Linked DNA regions of Homo sapiens: region 1 is linked to region 2. The links are contacts of gene promoters, found by promoter capture Hi-C in human tissues and cell types (Jung and others, 2019). All regions are on one chromosome and are shown on one strand. The core of a region is centred on a gene start or on the middle of the fragment in contact, and the rest is flanking DNA. Distances in the headings are between cores, read along the strand shown.

Region 1 (4,146 bases), core at 559-3,058, 160 kb before region 2:
AGCCGAGATCACGCCACTGCACTCCAGTCTGGGCAACAGAGCGAGACTCTGTCTCAAAAAATAAAATAAAATAAAAAAATTTAAAAATAAATAAATAAATAAACCTGGGGCAGCCGTCTCTCCAGGGTAAGCGACAGTGAATCACACCAGTGGACGGGCAAAGCCAGGGATGAGCAGGGCCCACTCCTCCGTGGGTGGCGAGGGAGCAGGCCACCTCACCTCCCCGGCTCTCTGCTGTAGCAGCCACTGAGGGTCTGCAGGAGTGCCACCCTCACCCCACCAGAAACGCCCCACCTTCCTGTCTCCTTTCCGCTCACTGTCCTCACAGCCTGTCCTATGCCCAGCCTTGCCTCAGTGGAGATGAATAAGCCACAGTCCACCCCTCCACTGTGTCACGTGGGACAGCCCTCTCAAGCCGCAGTCAGCCTCATCCTCACTGCCCTGGGGCCGGTGGTGACCTCCTACCTGCCCTCCTTACTGTGAGCGCCTCCCCTATCCAGCCCATCCTCTGAGCGGCCTCCAAAGGCCCCCCTAAAATGCCTGTCTCATCGTATCCCTTCCTGGCTTATCCAAACCCCAGTGGAATTACCAGGCTCTGTGCCCATCTCACCCCTCCTGAGACCCCACAGAAGAACAAGTGAGAACTGGTTCATGCCAGGAAGGAGCTTGGGAGGGATACAGGTGCCAAGCAGTGAGAGACGCCAACCAGTTTCTGGACCATGGAAAGGAATGGGAGTGGACTCTCGGTGAACGGAAGAGAAACCCACAGCCTGGCGTCTCCACGAGTGGCCGCAGGGGTGAAGCAGGGTGGGCTCCGGACTCAGAGCCCAGGGACAGCCAAAGGCAGGTGTGAGAGGAGGGGCTGGAGGGGACAACTGCCCCTCACCCCCAATTCCTCACTTGGAGTGAAGACAGGAAGCTTATACCCCAGGAAGTAAATTAGATTATTCTCCAAGCAACTCAAAAGAACTGCCTGTGGATACCAGCAGGCCCCCCAAAGGCCTGTCTCCTTCCAGCTCCTGGGACACCAAGCGGGAGAGGTGGCCGCTTTGCCATTCCCTCAAAGCGGAGCTTCCAGGTGACACCTTGTCCTACCCCAGGGGAAAGAAGAGCTACTCAGACAAGAGCAGAGGTTGCTCCCGCCTGCCCCTGCCCAGCATCCCTCCAACAGCCTGAAACGGCAGCATGGACCTCAGGGGAAGCAGGGGCTCTTGAAACAAGTCCCAGCACATTAAGCTTAAAAACAAGAACTTCTAATGAAAGTGCTCAGAGGACTCATGAAAATATCACAATCATAGGAAGACACAAATAGAAACAATGAGAGAACAAGAAAGAACACTGGGAGGTTGAAATACAATTGCCAAAATACAAACTTCAGCAGAGAATATGGAAAATAAAGTCGAGAACATCCACCAGAATTTAGATTAAAACAAAAGTAAAGGACCAAACCAGAGGACCTAATATCGGACAGACAGAGTCCCAATAAGAAACACAGGAAACAGAGGGAGACGATGGCCAGGGAATTCACAGAACAGATGGTACAGCACCAGTGTCACGATTTCTTCCATTTCCTGTGGCCTTCCCTGGATGGTGGGAGGAAAATAGCCCATAGCCAGAGGCATCGTTGCTGAATTTCCAATCTCCATGGATGGCTTCCAAATTTCCAGGAAAAGAAAACAGGTGAGCCACAAAGGGAGCAGAATCAGAAGGACTTTTTTTTTTTGAGACAGAGTCTCACTGTCACCAGGCTGGAGTGCAGTGGCTCGATCTCGGCTCACTGCAACCTCTGCCTCCCGGGTTCAAGCCATCTTCCTGCCTCAGCCTCCAGAGTAGCTGGGACTACAGGCACGCACCACCACACCCAACTAATTGACTTTCTAGATCTCACTGGCAACACTGGAGTCTGGGGAGAAGATGCTTTCTCGGTTCTGAGGCAAGTAATGTTCGACCTGGCATTCTATACACAGTCAAATGGTTTATCAAGTGAGAGGACAGAATAAAAACATTTTCACAAATGCCAGAGCACACGTATTTGTTTTTCATACCCTTGTTGCTAGGAAGTTACTTGAGGATGTGCTCCAGCAGGAGCAGGTGGCAAAACAAAGAAAGGGAAACACAGGCACTATGACTCTGTAGATCCAGCTCTGTGTGGAGGGAAGGGAAGGTCGGGAATAGTGGAGCAGACCTGGGGACAACCAGTCCACACTGGAACAGACACCAGGGGATGCGGGGAGGCTTCTGGGCAGCAGGGGGTGGGACAGAATGGATGTTATGATGGAGAAACAACGATTTTGAGGGAGAAAAATAATGATAAATAAAGGCATACATATAAAAATTGGGTCATTAAATCTCCACGAAAACAAGAAATCACACAGGAGACTTGGGGAAAGACTGAAATGTGATATGATCTGGAACAATGAGTGGAGAATGAGTAAAGAACCCATTTGGCTGGGGGCGGTGGCTCACGCCTGGAATCCCAGCACTTTGGGAGGCAGAGGCAGGCAGATCTTTTGAGCCCAGGAGTTTGAGACCAGCTTGGGCAACATGGCGAAACCCTGGACCATGCCTGTGGTCCTAGCTACTCAGGAGGCTGAGGCAGGAGGATTGCTTGAGCCCAGGAGCTTGAGGCTGCAGTGAGCCAAGATCATGCCACTGCACTCCAGCCTGGGCGACAGAGCGAGACCTTGTCTCAAACAAACAAAAAAATAACCCACTTGCTCTGCAGTTACCCTCAAATTCCCAGGGATTGTGGGAGAAGACGTCACGGCAGGCCTGGCCTCACCCTGAGTGATACTTACACAGTCATCACCATCCACACACTCCTGGCTGATTTTTGAATGTCAAGGCATCTCAGGGCCAGGCCTAGTAGGGCCAGGCATGGTCCCAGGACCGAGGACACCCCCAGCCTGGACGCTGTGGAGGGACGTGGGAGGTGGAGCTGGGTCTGTGGTTGGACCCACAGCTTTTTGGGATTCTGTTCGTTTGCCCACCGGCTCCTCTGGCTTCCATCGCTCTCCTGCACTAGAACGTAAGCTTCATGGGGCTGAGCCCAAGACCGTCTTGTCCCCTCCTGCTGGGGCCTCCTCACATGGAACCTGGGGCCAGGTGTGCACTGGGCCACATTCACGGGCAACCGACTGAGCTCCTGGGCCACCCAGCCCCTGGGAAGAGCCAGCTGCCACAGTCACAACCTCGTCCCCAGGTCACAGCCGCTGCTAGGCCCTCGCACTCCTCCAGAGCTCCAGGCCCATCCCTGTGCCGCGTCTCCTGACAGCCTCGCCTCTGCCCCACCTGGCCCATGGGATGGGCCTTCTCCCCTAGAGCCTGGGGGTCTAGCTGCGTCCTCCAGGGTGAGAGGGCACTGCCTGGTACATAGGGTGCTCAAGGCCACCTCAATACTGTCTATAAAACTGGGTTTGCCCCACTAAGCACCATGGTGATGTCGTCTTTCCAAGCCACAGCCTTTGCCTCCATCAAGGGGGTGGGAATTGGGGCCAAGGGTTTAAGCCAAGTTTTATGAAAACGACTGGGTGAAACCTCCACACTGCAATGCCTGTTACACAGTCTCCCGCACCCCACACCACGCGCCTTCACACACACACGGGGAATGAGCGTCTCTCGTCTCCGGGGTGGCTGATGGGACCTCAGGGGCACCTTCCTTGGGGCCATCCCACTTTATGCCCTTCCCTCCTTTCTGGCAACAGACCTCTGCTTTTGCTGTCATCTGACTATGCCTGATCCCACGGTCCAGTCTGCCCAGGTCTCTGGGTGGGCACCTGACCTAGGTGAGCCCACTCCCCAGCCACGGGGATTGCCCCAGAGGAGCCCATCAGACGCTTCCCCGGGACACATTTCTAGGGCCACAGGGCTGGGCACTTTCCTCTCCCCTGGACTGCTAAGCTGGGCAGACGCAGCGACTGTAAGACGTGCCTGGCAGCAGCCTCCAGCCTGGACTTGGACAGAGATACGGGCCCCTTCTCATGTCGTTGGGTCCTGCTGTGCCTGGGCCCATCCTGGTCCCCAGACCCCGTTACAAAATCTTGACTGGCTTGAGTCAGGCCGTGTGTGGTCCCTGCTGCCAAGAAGGCTACATCTTCTGGGGCTGCCCCTTTCCCACGGGGAACCCCCCGTGTCCTCCCTCTTGCA
Region 2 (4,532 bases), core at 634-3,133:
GTAAGTGAGTGAATGTGTAGGAGGATCATGCATGAATGGGTGAGTGGATGTCATGGGTATATGGGTATAGGAGAGGTAGATAAGTATGTGTACAGATGGGCAAAGGGAAGGATGTGGGCGTGTTATGGGGTGGTTGGGTAGGTTGACGGATGGATGGGTGGATAAGTATTGTGTTACATGGGAGAAAACAAGTTTAGTTAGGTTGATGGGTGAATGGATGAGTGAGTAGTTGGATATAGACATGGAAGCTGGCTAGCTGGGTGGATGGATGATGGGTGAGTGAATGGATGGGTGGGTGATGAAAGAAAGGGAGGACGGATGGGTGGATGGATGGATGAGTGAGTGAATGAATGGATAGGTGGGTGAATGGAATAGGTGGATGGATGGATGGACGGATGGATGGATGGATGGATGGATGGATGGATGGATGGATGATGAAAGAAAGAAAGCATGAAAGGATGGGTGGGTGAATAGAATAGGTGGATGAATGGATGGATGGTTGGAAGGATGGATAGATAAGTGAATAATGAATGGGTGGACGAATATGTGGATGAATGGATGGATGGGTGGATAGATGGATGATGAAAGAAAGAAAGGGTGAATGGATGGGTGGATGGGAGAGTGAATAAATGAATGGGTGGATGAATGGGTAGATGGATGGATGGGTGGATGGATGAATGAATGAGTGAGAGGATGGGTGGGTGATGAAAGAAAGGAAGGATGAAAGGGTGGACGGGTAGGTGGATGAATGTATGATAGGATGGAAGCTGGCTGGATGTGGGGGTGGATGAGTTGAATGGACAGATGGGTAAGAGGGTGAGTAAGTGGGTGGATGGTGAAGGAATTAATAATGTTATTATTATAAACATTATTATTATTATATGAATAAGTTTCTGGTTTAGAAGACTAGTATCCTTCTGAGAGCTCTCTCAGAGTGTCAGGCTCTACAAATTTGCTTCCTTGGGCTGCCCCTCTCTGGGTTGTTTCCCCATTTGCTCCATGAGTGTGAAGGAGTAGATTGGCCAGATTAGCTGCGCCTGCTCCAGGGGCCCAGCCCAAGCCCAGGTGCCTGGGAGTCACACTCCAGGACACTCGACCCCTGCCCTCTGGGGCCAGGGTCAGCAGCCTCTGGCCAGACCCCTCTTCTTAAAACAAGCTCAGGTAGGGAGAGAACACTGCCCTGCTGGTGGTTGCCATGGAAAATCCTTCATTGCTTGTTTTTCTCCTCGACTGATTAAGAAAAGGGAGTCATAAAATGACAGGGCGTCACTGGGCCTTGCCGCTGGCCAGCTTTGACTTATCCCCTGACATTTCCCAGGAGCCAGCTAACCTTTTCTGCCACAAATAGACTGAAGCGGGTCCCTTGAGGCAGTCTAGCCTGAACAGAGTCCATCTCAGGGGAGGTCAGGACCCGGGATACAGCAACAGGAGCCGGGTCATTCAAATAACCAGGAAGGAGAGCAGACAGTGCTGGGACCGAGAGCACAGCGAGGACCCTAAGGAAGCCACCAAAAAACAGCCTTCGCAACAGTCAGGACTGCTGTCAGGACCACCAGGCAGAGCCCAGGGAGCAAACACCTGCTCTCCCTCCCTGGGGTCCCCGCTGTGTTCCCAGGCATGACACTCACCTCCCAGAGCAGCAGCCTGGCCTCTGCTCCTCTCCGGGCAGAAACGACACAGGGATGCTCCCCAGTCAGTGTGCTGGGGTCCTAGGGGCGTTGGCGACGCCGGGGCAGGTTCCACCATAGATCCTGCTGCCTCAATCCAGAGGGCTTTCGGAAGGCGCCCCTGCTATGGCATCGCAGAGGGAGGAGACCCGGGATGTGGCCCAGCAGGGCTGTGTATACACCAAGATGCCTCCGTCTGCCCTTCCAGCTGTAAATCAAGACTCAGCCGTGGAGAGGGAGGATAAAGTCCACAGGGGCTGAACCTCCTCCCCAGCCCTGGTCTCAGCCTCAGGATAGAAGACTTTAACCCCAGAAGGCCCTCAGGAGGCCAGGCAAGCCAACACCCTCGAACCTGTGCCACGATGGGGGGCGATGGGGCGAGGACAGAGCCTGGAGTCACAGACCAGGAAACTGGGTTGCCTCAGCTCACCCAGGGTCCCAAGGCCAGGACAGGGCAGAGCCGAGACCAAAGTCCCTGCGAGGCCGCCCTCATGAAGGGACTCGGGAGGGTTCACTGGGTGAATGGATGAGCCTGTACAGTGAATGAAGGCCGAGCCCACGGCTGGGAGCTGCCATCCCCGGCTTCCTCTGAATACAGACAGCCTGATGCGCAGGTCTCAGATCTGGAAGGGGGCCTGGGCCCCTTGACCCCATCTCTTCATTTACTGCTGGGGAAACCGAGGGCCAGCCTGCCACAGTAATGCCGTGGGTGCCTGAGTCATCTCCTCCTCCTCCTCTTCCTTCTCCTCCTCCTCCTCTTCCTCCCCCTTCCTCATCTCCCCCTTTCCTCCTTCTCTTCCTCTTCCTCCCTTCCTCCCACCCGTCTCCCTCTCCTGAGCCCCAGCTCTGCTCTGCCACCAGGCCTTGTCCCTTTTAGGGTCCAAAAGAGCAGGTCCTGCCCTGGGGCCAGTCAGCATGAAAAGGGATGACCATCTCTTCCTCCAGAGGACAGGGACTCTATGCCCCAGGCACTCCAAGGTCAAACCTGGCTCCCACTCAGACTATGAAGACAGCATCCACTGGGTCAGAGTCATGAAGCCACGGGTCCCAGGGGACAGCTCAGGTGGCCACAGGGCCAGACTGGCAGGCTGCCCTCTGCCTCCTGTTAGCACAAACACCCCTCCCCTCAGGCCTGAACTCTGACATGAGCCAGTGGGCACCGGGCCCTGTCAGGAACAGGAGGAGGCCACAGCCATCCTCAGGAGAGAACAAAGGACACACAGGCCTCCGGGGAGAGCAGTGGGTGGCAGTGACAGGAGGGGCTACTCAGAATTCATGAGCGAGGGCCAGGCAGCTTGGCCACCTTGGAGGAGCCGCTGCACCTATCCAAGCCCAGGTTTCCCTGCTGAAGGCAGCACCGGTGTCTCCTCCTGGGGGTGTTGAGAGGGTCATCCCAGGCCAGGGAGGTCGAAGGGCTCTGTGAGCTGTGAAGCGCTGGGCACCTGTGGGGCGGGGGCGTTCATCCTGCGGTCAGTCTGCCCTGGAGGGCGGAACACCTACGCACTGTTCCAGCGGGAGGGGTATGGCGTCCAGTGAGGCCCAGCTCCCCGAGCCTTTCCTGATGGCACTGGAAGACAGGCAGCATCCCAGAAACATATAAAAGGCCCAGGGGCTGGTGCTGGGGGCACATGACCGGGGCGACCCTGGGCTGGGCTGTGTACCCCCGGAGCACTGCAGCAGACAGAGCAGGGGTGCGAACTCCAGGGTCCCAGGATCCATCTCCTTCCCTGCAACAAACCCCTCTCTGCTGGAAATCCCTGGAGCGGTTCCTCCATCCTGCTCTGAACCTCCTTGACTGATCCCACCGACCGGTGCACTGCACAGCTGCCTGGAGACCAGAAGATTCCATACGTCTCCCTCCACCTGCCCAACACCCACAAGCCCAGGAGGCTGCCCTCCATAATTCTGGCTTTTCTGCGTATTTTTCAAAGCACAGGGCACTGGAAGAATGCCTGCATGAGACATTCTTGCAAGCCAGAGCCCGCTGGAGGCATGCAGGAGAGCAAAACCTCCCTGCTGTGTCTGCAGATTTGCACACATTTCTGGGAAATAAACCTGCGGCCCCTCCTCTCCCCGAGACGTTGGTTTATCTTCCAGGGCAAAAGGATACCGTCTTTTCTGTGGCAAAGATGGGGGCGAGATGGCTAGCAGTCCCCTTAGAAGATCAAGGGTTTCCTCGGCTGACACAAACCTGCTCTGTTTGCCCCCTGAGATGTGGGGGACAAGGCAGAGGGATAAGGACATGCTGTACCCTGAGTAATAAATGGTCAGGACCCTTCAGGCTTGTCGCTTCCTTACTGGTCACGTTTATGGAAGTGTGGCGCAAACGTGGCCGCTACTTGGTCAAGTGACTGCGAGTTCCCGTGCGTCTCGGGTCACCAGTGTTTCTCCCTGGCTGTGCCCACACCTCACCTGGCCTCCCAGGCCCTGTCTCCCTGAGCTTCTCACAGCACGCTCCCTCGCGGTCTGTGTACCGCCTCTTGGGTCGCCTTCCACACCTTGAAGCAGGAGTGTGAGTTCCTTCCGCGGACCCGGTGCGGGCTCCTGTGGCCCCGCTCAGCCCGTTCTCATCCTTCAGGGAGTCTCAGATTATTTTTGTTTGTTGTTTCTTTTTTTTTCCTTCCAACTTCTATTTGAGGTTCTAGGTATACACGTGCAGGTCTGTTACACGGGTAAACCGCGTGTCACGGGGTCTTGGTGTACAGATTATTTCATCACCCAGGCACTGTGCATTGTACCGACAGGTGGTTTTTTTTTGTTTTTTTTTTTTGTTTTTTGTTTTTTGTTTTGTTTTTTTTTCTGAGATGGAGTCTTGCTCTGTCACCAAGGCTGGAGTGCAGTGGCACGATCTCGGCTCACTGCAAC

Evidence for each region. The method cuts DNA at HindIII sites, captures the fragments that hold promoters and counts their contacts. A contact is called where the count stands out against the background at its distance.
Region 1: a contact is called between a fragment that was not itself captured here and the fragment with the promoter of LINC00955 in region 2, in 6 of the 25 tissues and cell types used here (dorsolateral prefrontal cortex, heart right ventricle, lymphoblastoid cells and 3 more).

Annotation. Positions count from the first base shown.
Region 1 is chr4:3,734,427-3,738,572 of GRCh38, reverse strand. No RefSeq gene overlaps it. Among named protein-coding and RNA genes, the nearest start is that of ADRA2C, 30 kb to the left of the region's middle. The HindIII fragment of the contact is 4,235 bases long and covers 1-3,925 here.
Region 2 is chr4:3,574,220-3,578,751 of GRCh38, reverse strand. It overlaps LINC00955 (long intergenic non-protein coding RNA 955), which reads right to left and starts at 1,883. Exons shown (of 3, transcript NR_040045.1): 1 at 1,629-1,883. The HindIII fragment of the contact is 13,427 bases long and covers 1-4,532 here.